2 separate regions of the Homo sapiens genome follow, and region 2 is linked to region 1. The links are contacts of gene promoters, found by promoter capture Hi-C in blood cells and fetal thymus (Javierre and others, 2016). All regions are on one chromosome and are shown on one strand. Each heading gives the region's core, a stretch centred on a gene start or on the middle of the fragment in contact. The rest is flanking DNA. Distances are from core to core; before and after follow the strand shown. Region 1 holds the start of ODF4 (outer dense fiber of sperm tails 4). Region 2 has its middle 16 kb from the start of MFSD6L.

Region 1 (5,930 bases), core at 2,190-4,689:
CTGTCTGTAGTCTCAGCTACTGGGGAAACTGAGGTGGAAGGATCACTTGAGCCCAGGAAGCAGGGGTTGCACTGAGCCGAGATCATGCCACTGCACACCAACCTGGGCAACAGAGCAAGACTCCATCTCAAAAAAAAAAAAAAATGTCCAATAAGCTCCTTGATTTAGAAGAGATTTGTAAAATAAATTATACTATCCCCATACATTGTGTTATTGTGTGTTCATTTAAAATGGTGATAGGTGATAGACTGGGCACAATGGCTCACACCGGTAATCCCAACACTTTGGGAGGTGGAGGCAGGAGAATCACTTGAGCCCAGGAGTTGGAGACCAGCCTGGGCAACAGAGGGAGACCCTGGTCTCTACAAATTAAAAAAAAAAAAGTAGCCAGGCATGGTGGCATCTGTGGTGCCAGCTACTTGGGAGCTTCAAGGTGGGAGGATCACTTGGGCCCAGCAGTTTGAGGCTGCAGTGCAATAAACTACAATCACACCACTGCAGTCCATCCTGGGTGACGGAGTGAGACACTGTCTCAAAATAAAAATAAAAATAGATGCTTGTCTCTGAATAGAGTGTCTCTGGAAAGAAACAGGAGAAACTAGGGAGGGAGACTGGATACTAAGAGATAACAGACTCACTTCAGTATACAATCTTTTGTATTCTTTGAATTTTCACTGTTTATACACACCTAATCCTAATTAAATAAATTTTAAAAATCAGTGATGTTTGGCCGGATGCGGTGGCTCACGCCTGTAATCCGTGAGCCGAGGCACTTTGGGAGGCCGAGGCAGGCGGATCATCTGAGGTCAGGAGTTCAAAACCAGCCTGGCCAACATGGTGAAACTCCGTCTCTACTAAAAATACAAAAATTAGCTGGGCATGGTGGTGGGCGCCTGTAATCCCATCTACTTGGGAGGCTGAGGCAGGATAATCGCTTGAAACCGGGAGGCAGAGGTTGCAGTGACCTGAGACCGCAACTGCATTCCAGCCTGGGCAACAAAGCAAGACTCTGTCTCAAATAAATAAATAAATAAAAATAAAAAGCCTGGCTGTCTTTGAGTAACTCCGTAGAGCAAGGCGCCTATGTGAGTTTTAGAGCCAGGCACACCTGAGTTGCAATTCCAACCCTGCCATTATTAGGTTGATCCATGTGAAATTCTCCTTTTGTAGGTGAAAAGCAGTCAAATATTAGCATGTCATTTGGTTCAATCTAAATAGCTTTATGACCCTGAGCAAGGTACTTAATCTCTCTGAGTCCCAATTTTCTCATCTCTAAAATAGGGATAATTATCCCTATCCCTTAGGATTGACTAAGGACTAAATTGAACAAATGGAGTAAGTGTACAATAAAGGATAGCTTTTGTTTCCCCAAATTTATTATAATAAGGACATAATATTTTCATAATGCTTTCATAATTCATTATATGAATATTTTCATATTCATATGATAAGGACATAATACTTTCAGAAAATAATAGCTGTGTGATTTTTTTCATGCTAAGGAGAGTGAAAAAATGGAAATAAGGGTCAAAAGCTCTGGTTTTCCCCAGGAGCAGGGAAAGAACTCCAAATTCCTGAGGGGTGAGGGAACAGCATAACCAGAGACTAACAACAATAAGAACCAGGTGTGGTGGCCACGGCCTGTAGTCTGAGCTTCTCCGGAAGTTAAAGCAGGAGGATCCCTTGAGCCTGGAAGTTCGAGGCTGCAGTGAGCTATGATTGCACCACTGTACTCCAGCCTGGGTGACAGAGTGAGACCTTGTCTCTAAAAAAATCAGCGAAACAAACAGAAAAAAACAAGGATGAGGAATGAAGCAGCTGCAAGAATTCAGGGAAAGAAGGAACACAGAAGCCAGATGTGGAAAAAGGAAAATGATCCAGAAAAGCAAGGCCTGAGGCAGAAGGAAAGGAGAATGTGTGGGATCAGGGCCTGAGAGGGGACATTGCAAGGAGTCCTCTCAAAGCTCTGGGTACACAAGACTAAGGAAACCCCCATCTCACTGGGGCTCTTGTCCCTGGTAAATTAGGCGATTAATGAATGATTCTCTTGTGCTGAGTCCATGCCCCTCGTAACTTTTTTTTTTTTTTGAGACAGAGTTTTACTCTTGTTGCCCAGGCTGGAGTGCAATGGTGCGGTCTCGGCTCACCGCAACCTCCACCTCCCGGGTTCAAGCAATTCTCCTGCCTCAGTCTCCAGAGTAGCTGGGATTACGGGCATGTGCCACCACGCCTGGCTAATTTTTTGTATTTTTAGTAGAGACGGGGTTTCACTATGTTAGCCAGGATGGTCTCGATCTCCCAACCTTAGGTGATCTGCCTGCTTTGGCCTCCCAAAGTGCTGGGATTACAGGTGTGAGACGCAGTGCCCAGCCTGATTTTTTTTTTTTTTTTTTTGAGACAGGAGTCTCACTAAATTGCCCAGGCTGGACTCAAATTCTTGGGCCCAAGCAATCCTCCCACCTCAGCCTCCTGGATAGCTGAGACTACAGGTGTGCAGCACCATGCCCAACTCTCTCACAGCATTCTTAGAAGCACAGATTTGGCTCTGGGTTTTATCAAAAGCAGTGACATTTTCCATTGCACCAATCAAATCTATTTAGCCAGGCTACAGGATGAGAAACGATCATCGGAGGTCTCAGTGCCAGTGGAACCATCTTGCAGGCCAAAAAGTAAAGATGACCAGAAAGAGGGAACAAGAATACATCCAGGGTGCAGATACAGAGGCCAAGACAGGCTGGCGGCCTGGGCTGGGATGGGGGGTGGAGGGGCTCACCTTTCCCATTCTCTAAGTCAGAACAGCTCCTGGATTTGTAAAAGTGCAGGAGCCCCATGGACATAACGTGGGCTGATGTGTGGATTCTGTTGCTGACATCCACGGGCCAGCGCTGGTAGAAGAGGCTCCTAGAGAGGTCCAGCCATTTCTTGGAGAAGGCCACGACCAATAGTAGGATAAAGGCAACCAGGCTGAGCTCAGAGGCCAACACCTGGGCCATCCAGCGGAAGCTGTGTGTGATTCTCCATTGAAAGGGCAGCGGAGAGTTCTGGCGCTGGCCCAAGGACCTGTTACTACTGAGGGAGAGGGTGGAGGACAGCAGTCTCCCATCTTGTCCCAGCTCACCTGTGCCCCATCCTGCCTCCCCACTCTTCCTTTCCTTTCCAGGTCTCTGATGTTGGTCTCTTTCTCCTTCTGACCTGGGGAACTCATTCCCAGAGTACTCTGCATCCATCTTGAGCACCACTTCACCCTCTGTCTCCCCTTTCCCTCACCAGACTCAATTGTCTCTTCTCATCTTTTGGATATTTTCATCAGCTGCCACCATGCAGCCTGAGGTCTGAGAAAGAATGAGGAAGTCTAATAACAGACCTCGATCAAATAAGAGACTCTTGATCCAAGAGAAGGCCCCAACCCATTCAGCAGGCCAGGTCCCCTAACTGCCACGGAATTTTCCTGGGGCACAGTGAGATGGGGGAGGGAAGCCAAGTCTTCAGCAATTTTTTTTTTTTTTTTTTTTTTTTTTAGAGAGAGAGACAGGGTCTCCCTCTATTGCCCAGGCTGGGATGCAGTGGCACAACCTTGGCTCACTGCAACCTTGAACTCCTGGGTTCAAGTGATCCTCCCACCTCAGCCTCCTGAGTAGCTGGGATTACAGGATTGTGCCAGCATGCCTGGCTAATTTTTCAATTGTTTGTAGAGATGGGGTCTTGATATGTTACCCAGCCTGGTCTCAAACTCCTGGCCTCTGCCAGGCACGGTGGCTCACGCCTGTAATCACTGCACTTTGGGAGGCCGAGGTGGGTGGATCACCTGAGGTCGGGAGTTCGAGACCATCTTGACCAACATGGAGAAACCCCATCTCTACTAAAAATACAAAATTAGCTGGGCGTGGTAGCACATGCCTGTAGTCCCAGCTACTCAGGAGGCTGAGGCAGGAGAATTGCTTGAACCTGGGAGGCGGAGGTTGCGGTGAGCCGAGATCGCACCATTGCACTCCAGCCTGGGCAACAAGAGTGAAACTCAGCCTCAAAAAAAAAAAAAAAAAACTCCTGGCCTCATGAGATCCTCCCCACTTGGCCTCCCAAAGCACTGGGATTACAGGTGTGAGCCACCTTGCCTGGCCTGTGGCTCCAGCTCTAACTCTTTCCGGAAATCCTGTTTCTCAGGCCACAGCTCAGAACTGTGGATCTGACACCTCCCTCCAGCTTCTGCCTCCCTTTACATATGAGCAATGGTATGTGAGAGGCCCTCCTGTGGTCTGCATATGGTTAATTTGTCTTCACCAAACCTCATGCTGAAATTTGCTCCCCAGTGTGGTGGTGATGGGAGGTGAGAGGGCCTAGTGGGTGGTGTTTGGGTCATGGGGGCAGATGCCTTGTGATTGGATTAACGCCTTCCCTGAGACCTCACTCCATTAGCTCCCCGCAATAGCTGGTTGTTAAAAAGAACCTGGCGCTGTTACCAAGCAAAAGTGCTCGCTGCCAGATGTGCATAGAAGCCAATACTCCAATACTAGGGCACTAGGTTTTGAGAAAAGGAAAGCTTTATTGTGAGCTGACCCACGAGGATACGGGAATCCAGCTCAAATCTGTCTCTCTTTGCTGGTCTTAAGGCAGTACTTTTATTAGAAAAGGTTTAGGGGGAGGATTCTGGGATTAGCGGGTGATTGGTGGAAAGAAAGGAGAAGTCTAGAAAGTCCTTAATCATGTCTGGTTATCTCCAAGGTTCTTCGTGGGTTGCATGTGCAAATTTGGTGGCGTTAGTATGAAACAGCAGGTGGAAATTCAGGCTGTGACATCAGCAAGCTCGTTCTGTGCGGATTGCTGTCAGCCATACGGGTTCCCACTGATTTCAGCCAGTCCTGTTATAAGCAAAGGGATTTTTCAGCATTTCAGCAAGCTGTTTCTTAGCTGCCATCCTGTAAACTCGAAAATGTCTGTTAATCACTGGTTTATTTAACTGTTTGGGGCACAGTTTCAGCTCCTCCCTTACCTTGTGATCTCTGCACAAGCCAGCTCCCCCTTGCCTCCACCATAAGTGAAAGCAGCCTGACGTCCTCAACAGATGCCCAATCTTGAGCTTTCTGGCCATCAGAATTGTGAGCCAAATAGCCCTTTTTTCTTTATAAATTATTCACCCTCAGGTATTCTGTTATAGCAACACAAAATGGACTAGGACAGTCCCCTTTTCTCTTCCTAGTTCCTCTGCCCTAACCCCAACCCCAAATGCTCACTGATGGAGCAGGGGGAGGGAGCAGGAGCTTATCCCCAGGAAAAGATCCTCCCTCCATTGTTCTTTGGACATGTCTTGCAAAGATGTCATCGAGCTTCCCATTGCTTTCCCCAACCCTTCACCTCCCTCCCAGCTCTACTCACTGCTAGTCAATCACCACCAGTTCCTTCCCTCTTCTTTTGACTTTTCTTTTTCCTTTCTTTTTTTTCTCAGCACCAGAAAGAGGAGGATGTAGGATGAGAATGGGTCCTAGAGGTGTCATGCCTTCTGAGATTGTTATAATTTTATTTATTTATGTATTTATTTATTGAGACAGTCTTCCTTCATCACTCAGGCCAGAAGGAGTCTCTGTCTAAAAAAAAAGAACATAGGCTTTGGGGTCCAACAGGCAAAGGTATGAAAAATGGGTCTTCCCCGCCTTTTTTTTTTTTTTTTTTTGAGATGGGATTTCACTCTTGTTGCCCAGGCTAGAGTGCAATGGCGCCATCTTGGTCAGCTAACTGCAACTTCCGCCTCCTGGGTTCAAGCAATTCTCCTGCCTCAGCCTCCCAAGTAGCTGGGATTACAGGAATGAGCCACCACGCCCAGCTAATGTTTTGTATTTTGTAGAGACAGGATTTCACCATGTCAGTCAGGCCGGTCTCAAACTCCTGACCTCAGGTGATCCACCTGTCTCAGCCTCCCAAAGTCTTGGGATTACAGG
Region 2 (5,930 bases), core at 1,859-4,358, 440 kb before region 1:
CTTTGGGCCAAGGGCACACCAGCCCTTCTCACCCTGCAGAATAGCATAGCATTCTGGAACCCGAGAGATGCTGGGGCCTGGAATGAAGGTTCATCTCCTTCCCCAGAACCTGGCAGAAAGTTCCTGGTCTGTGTGCAGAAGGACCACATTGAGCCAAGACACCAGCCCTATAGGCCAATCGATCTGCCCTCAAAGCCAGGGTCTAGGGAGTGGTGGGATGAGCCAGAGGGGGCAATCTGTGGTGACTGGAACTTGGTGTCTGGTCGAGGCCTGCAGCATGGGGGGCTACTGCGGAAGGCAGAGGTCTGGGTAGGCACCTTCAGGGCGGGGCACCTTCCTATTGGCACTCAACGTTCCCTTTAGCTTTGTTCATGTCGACCCCCATAGGCTGCAGTTTTGGACACTTGCATCCCCTCTGCCCTTTGCAAGGGGCAGGCCACGCTCTTGGGACTGGAAAGCTATTTTCTGCCTCCACACGGGGGTGGAATGGCTGTAAGCGGGGACTGAAGAGGACTTCTGAAAGCAAACCGGGACAGGAAGGGAGAGGATTCGACCAGGGGTTCCGAAGCTCTCCACCAGGGAGCGCCAAACACAAGGGAAAACTAGCGTCCCTCTTCATTGGGCAAACCTGGTCCCTATTCCCTTCCCAAAGCTGCAGCTCAGGATGAGGCCGGCAACCTGAAGGCCCTTTAGTTCTTGGAGCTTGGAATTACAGAAAACCCCGAGGATCAGGTGCTGCTGCTGAGCTGGCTTTGTGAGAGACAGGAGGCGAGGCCAGGGTCTGGGAAAAGGGAGCAGCTGCAAAGGCTTCCAGTGGAATTGGCAGATCAGCCTGGCCAGCCCAGACAGCCTCTGGCAGCCTTTCCTGAGGATATGGACGACCCTGATGCTACTTTTGTCTTGATCAGTGTAAATGTGAAGAAACAGGATAAATAGCTGCATGTACTTTTTGAGTTTCCTAGGGCTGCCGAGGGACCACCTGAGGTCAGAGTCACAATAATAAAACCAATTTCACAGACCCTCACCTCCTGCTCCTCAGCCCCATCCCCTTCCAAGCCTGGCTGCCCAAATCTCATCAGTGTATATTCCAGTGCCTGCAGAGAGAGGCTCACAAGGATTTACAAATAAGTCCTATCTCACCAGGCACTCACTGGATCTCTGTCACCATGGAAGAGATGAGAAGATTCCAAGAAAATTCCAAGACCCTCCACTATCATATCAACATGTTACAATTTTCCTCTTTCAGGAAGCATGTGGCATCCAGAAACAGTGCTTCTTCCTATTGTTCTTGGCAAATTACATCAAAATCTGTGTGCTCTTAGCCCAGAAAAGAGATGACACTTCCAGGAAGGAGAGAATATAGCACCTGCTTTTGGCTAAAGCCCCTCTTCTCCAAGGTTGTACTGGCAGGTTTTCTAAATTTTGATTAGAGAATAGTGAGAAGCTTGCCCTTGGAGAGGTGAGTTAGGTAAGAGAGCTATGATTGGATGTCACCACTGAACCTACCTGAAATGAGGTAAGAGAGTTGGGAATGGATCCCACCAGAGGCCCATCATTTTTATGGCAAGTCATAAGAGGGATCTGAATGTCTCCCCCCATGACAATAGCTGTCCCATCTTGCCTTGGAGCTTGGCTGTCAGCAGCAAATAAACCTCACTGTGTCTGTCCCTGGGACTAGCGAGTCAGACCAACTCAGGGGCTCAAGGTGTTTGGATATTTGAAGAAGTCTTGCCTTCCACAGAAGACCAGAGGTTGTGTGGTGATATCTGAATTTTGCTTAGCATTGTCTTGAACAGGAACTAAAGAAACATTTCAAGAAGAAAACAATTGCTTTTAAAAACTTAACTCTTCTTTGTCATTTGGTGCTCAGAAATCTTTGTCTCATTGCAAACAAAAGAAACTAAGTAAGGGCAGTCTTGGAAAGAAGACGCACCAGGTACCATTACTGCAGTCATACTGAGGCCCACCACCACCACGACTACCACCAATGGAAACGAGAGATGGGGTTCAGATGTGGATGACAAAGATGTGGATGACAAAGGTCTAGCATCAAAGGACAAAATCAACAGAAGTGAAGAGGCAACCTATGGAATGGGAGAAAATATTAGCAAATCATACATCTGATAAGGTGTTAATATGCAGAATATATGAAGAACTCTTAAAACTCAACAACAAAAAAACAAACAACCTGATTTTTAAATGGGCAAAGTACTTAAATAGACATTTCTCTAAAGAAAATATACAAAAGACCAGCAAGCTCATGAAAAGATGCCCAACATCACTAATCATTAGGGACATGCAAACCAAAACCACAATGAGATACCATCTCTCACACTCATTAGGATGGCTGCTATGAAAAACAAACAAAAAACGAACAACAACAACAAAAAAAAAACAGGCCAGGCACTGTGGCTGGCTTGTAATCCCAGCACTTTGGGAGGCCAAGTTGGGCTGATCCCTTGAGGTCAGGAGTTCACCTGGCCAACATGGTGAAACCCAGTCTTTACTAATAATACAAAAATTAGCTGGGCCTGGTGGCACACACCTGTAATCCCAGCTACTCAGGAGGCTGAGGCAGCAGAATCACTTGAACCTAGGAGGCAGAGTTTGCAGTGAGCAGAGATTGGACCACTGCACTCCAGCCTGGGTGACGGAATGAAACTGTGTCTCAAAAAATAATAATAATAATAATAAGTGTTGACAAGGATGGAGAAATTAGAACACTATGAACTGTTGATGGGAAAGTAAAATAGTGCAACCACTATAGAAAACTGTAGGGTTCTTGCTAAAAAAAATTAAAAATAGAATTACCATATGATCTAGCATTCCCATTCCTGAATATATACCCAAAAGAATGGAAGGCAAGGTCTTGAAGAGATATTTGTACATGCATGTTCATAGCAGGATTATTCACAGTAGCCAAAATGTGGAAGTAACCCAAGTGCCTATCAACAGATGAATGGATAAAAAGTGTGGTATATACATACAAAGGAATATCATTCAGCCTTTAAAAGGTTTCAAATGTTTCCTCTGTTCTTTTCTTTTTTTCTTCTCCTGTATTCTCATTACATGTATTTATATGAATAGCTTTTGTAGCTATCCCACAGTCCTAGGATGCTCTGTTTGGTTTTTCTTTTTTAGTCTCTTTGCACTTTGCTTTTTTTTTTTTTTTTTTTTTTTGAGATGCGGTCTCGCTCTTTCACCCAGGCTGGAGTGCAGTGGTGCAATCTTGGCTCACTGCAACCTCTGCTGCCCGGGTTCAAATGATTCTCCTGCCTCAAGCCTCCCAAGTAGCTGTGATTACAGGCACCTGCCAGCACGCCCAGCTAATTTTTGTATTTTTAGTAGAGACAGGGTTTCACCATCTTGGCCAGGCTGGTCTGGAACTCCTGACCTCGTGATCCACCCACCTCAGCCTCCCAAAGTGCTGGGACTACAGGCGTGAGCCACCGCACCCGGCCTTGCACTTTGCTTTTCAGTTTTGGAAGTTTCTTTTGAGATATCCTCAAGCTCAGCGTTTCTTTCCTCAGCTGTGTCCAGTATACTAATGAGCCTATCTGGGTGGTCTTTATTTCTATTACAGTGTTTTTGATCCCTAGTGTATGTTTTTGGTTCTGTCTTAGAATTTCTATCTCTTTGTTTAAATTGCCCATCTGTTCTTGCATGTTATCTGCTTTATCCATTAGAACGCTTAGCATATTAATTATATTTGGGTTAAATTCCTGATCTGATAATTCCAACATCCCTGTCACATGAGTCAGATTCTGATGCTTTCTCTGTCTCTATATTTTGTTTTTGCCTTTTAGTATGCCCTGTAATTTGTTTTCCCCAGACATAATGTACTGGGTAAAAGAAACTTCTGTTCATAAGCCTTTAGTAATGTGGTGGTAAGGTGTGGGGGAAGAAGAGCATTCTATAGTCCTATGAGTAGGCCTCAGTCTTTTAGTAAGCCTATGCCCCTAGACTGTGAACTTCAGACGTGCTTCTCAGTTGCTCCCCTCTCCCCTTAGGTAAACTAGGATGGTTAGAGTGAACTGGAATTAGGGTTTTCCTTCTCCCACATGGAAGGTTGGAGGAAATTAGAGTTGAGTATTTCCCTTCCTCCATGTGGAAGCTACAGCTGGTTGGAATTGGATATTTTCCTTCCCCTAAGTTAATTACGCTCTGATAAAAACCCAGCAGGTTAGACTGGTTAAATAGTTTCTCCTAGAGGAAGGCTTTGTTGAAAAGAATGGAATGCATTGGTATTTCCAAATAGCTTCTTTTCCCATCCCCAGGATGGAAGCATGAGGGAAATTTTCTCAAATTATTCACTGTGAGAACCTGGTAGAGCTCCAGGAGGTAAAATTCACCAGAGTGTAGGGACCCCCTTATGCCTGGGTACCCCTGGAATATTTATCTCTCAGACTTGTCCATGCCGAGCCTCCAGCAACTCATCAAGTACAATGCCGGTTTCTACTTGTGAGTTTCTGCTTCCGTATGTTTTGATTCTCTGTATTCACCTCTCTGTCTCTCCAATCTTGGGAGCACTGGTTTATCCTGTGACATCACTTGTCTCACAGATCTAAGAAGAGTTGTTGATTTTCCAGTTTTTTCAGCTTTTTACTTGTTAGGACAGAGTGGTTACTTCCAAGTTTCTTAACATGCCAGACCACAAACTAAAAGTTCTGCATTTTCAAAAGTGTTAACCTCTGAGGGTTTTCTAGTTGTGATCGTGACCTTTGGTTCCAACTCAATTTTAACCAAAGTCAAATCAAAGTGTTTGAAGCTTAAAACTCATATTTCCACAATATCCTTTGCCCAGTTTTTGTTCTGTTTCTTGTCTTTTTTCATGTGGTTTTGCAGAAGTGTGTTGTATAATCTAGATATTAATCCTTTGCTGATTTTCATTTCGGAAATATCTTTGCCCAGTCTGTCACTCATTTGTTAACTTTGGTATATTTTTTTGAACAGAAAATCTTATTTTGATGTAATCAAAGTTTTTTATTTTCCCATTACAATTTATCTTGAGGATCTTAAGAATCTCTCTTGCTACAAGGATTCTAGGGAGAAAAATAAAATAAAATAAGAATCTCTCTTGCTACCCCCCCCACTTCCAAGTTAAAAAGATACTACATTTTCCATATTAGCTTTTAATTTTAAACTCTCATTTTAGGTCTTTAATTCATTTGGAATTTCTTTTGAATAGACTTAAGATAGGGACCCACCTTTATATTTCTCCACTTAGCCAGTTTTCAAAATGCTATAGACTAAATAATCCACTCTTCCTCTATGATTTCTGGCACTACATCTTTATACTTAAGTCTGCTTTTGAGTTCTCTAGTTTTATTAATCTATTTGTCCCTGCACTAATATCACACTAATATCACAGTTAGCACTTGGCTTTGTAATGTCTCAATATTTGGTAAGGTGAGTCTTTCCTCTTTACTCTTCTTTTTTAGGCTTTATTCTCCCTTATAAATTTTACAGTAAGTGTTTCACTTTCCCCCAAAAAAATTCTGGAAATTTTATTGGAACTGCATTGAATTCGTACATTAATTTGGAGGGATTTGGCATCCTTACATTGTTAAGCCATTTATCTATGAATATAGTATGTATTTCTATTTATTATTATTATTATTATTATTATTTTCTTTTTTGAGACGGAGTCTCGCTCTGTCACCCAGGCTGGAGTGCAGTGGCGCCATCTTGGCTCACTGCAAGCTCCACCTCCCGGGTTCAAGCCATTCTCCTGCCTCAGCCTCTAGAGTAGCTGGGACTACAGGCACCTGCCACCACGCCCGGCTAATTTTTTGTATTTGTAGTAGAGATGGGGTTTCACCATGTTAGTCAGGATGGTCTCAATCTCCTGACCTTGTGATCCACCCGCCTTGGCCTCCCAAAGTGCTGGGATTACAGGCGTGAGCCACTGCGCCCGGCCTCAAAACTTC

Evidence for each region. Contacts are between HindIII fragments. The CHiCAGO score rates a contact against its expected background, and 5 or more counts as called.
Region 2: a contact is called between a fragment that was not itself captured here and the fragment with the promoter of ODF4 in region 1, in 1 of 17 cell types (erythroblasts). The highest score is 5.3, in erythroblasts.

The regions. Positions count from the first base shown.
Region 1 is chr17:8,337,349-8,343,278 of GRCh38, reverse strand. It overlaps ODF4 (outer dense fiber of sperm tails 4), which reads right to left and starts at 3,439. Exons shown (of 3, transcript NM_153007.5): 1 at 2,774-3,439. The coding sequence starts at 3,227. It overlaps LOC124903916 (a long non-coding RNA gene), which reads right to left and starts at 5,222. Exons shown (of 2, transcript XR_007065607.1): 1 at 4,988-5,222; 2 at 4,521-4,856. The HindIII fragment of the contact is 6,182 bases long and covers 1-4,539 here.
Region 2 is chr17:8,780,647-8,786,576 of GRCh38, reverse strand. No RefSeq gene overlaps it. Among named protein-coding and RNA genes, the nearest start is that of MFSD6L, 16 kb to the left of the region's middle. The HindIII fragment of the contact is 3,324 bases long and covers 1,447-4,770 here.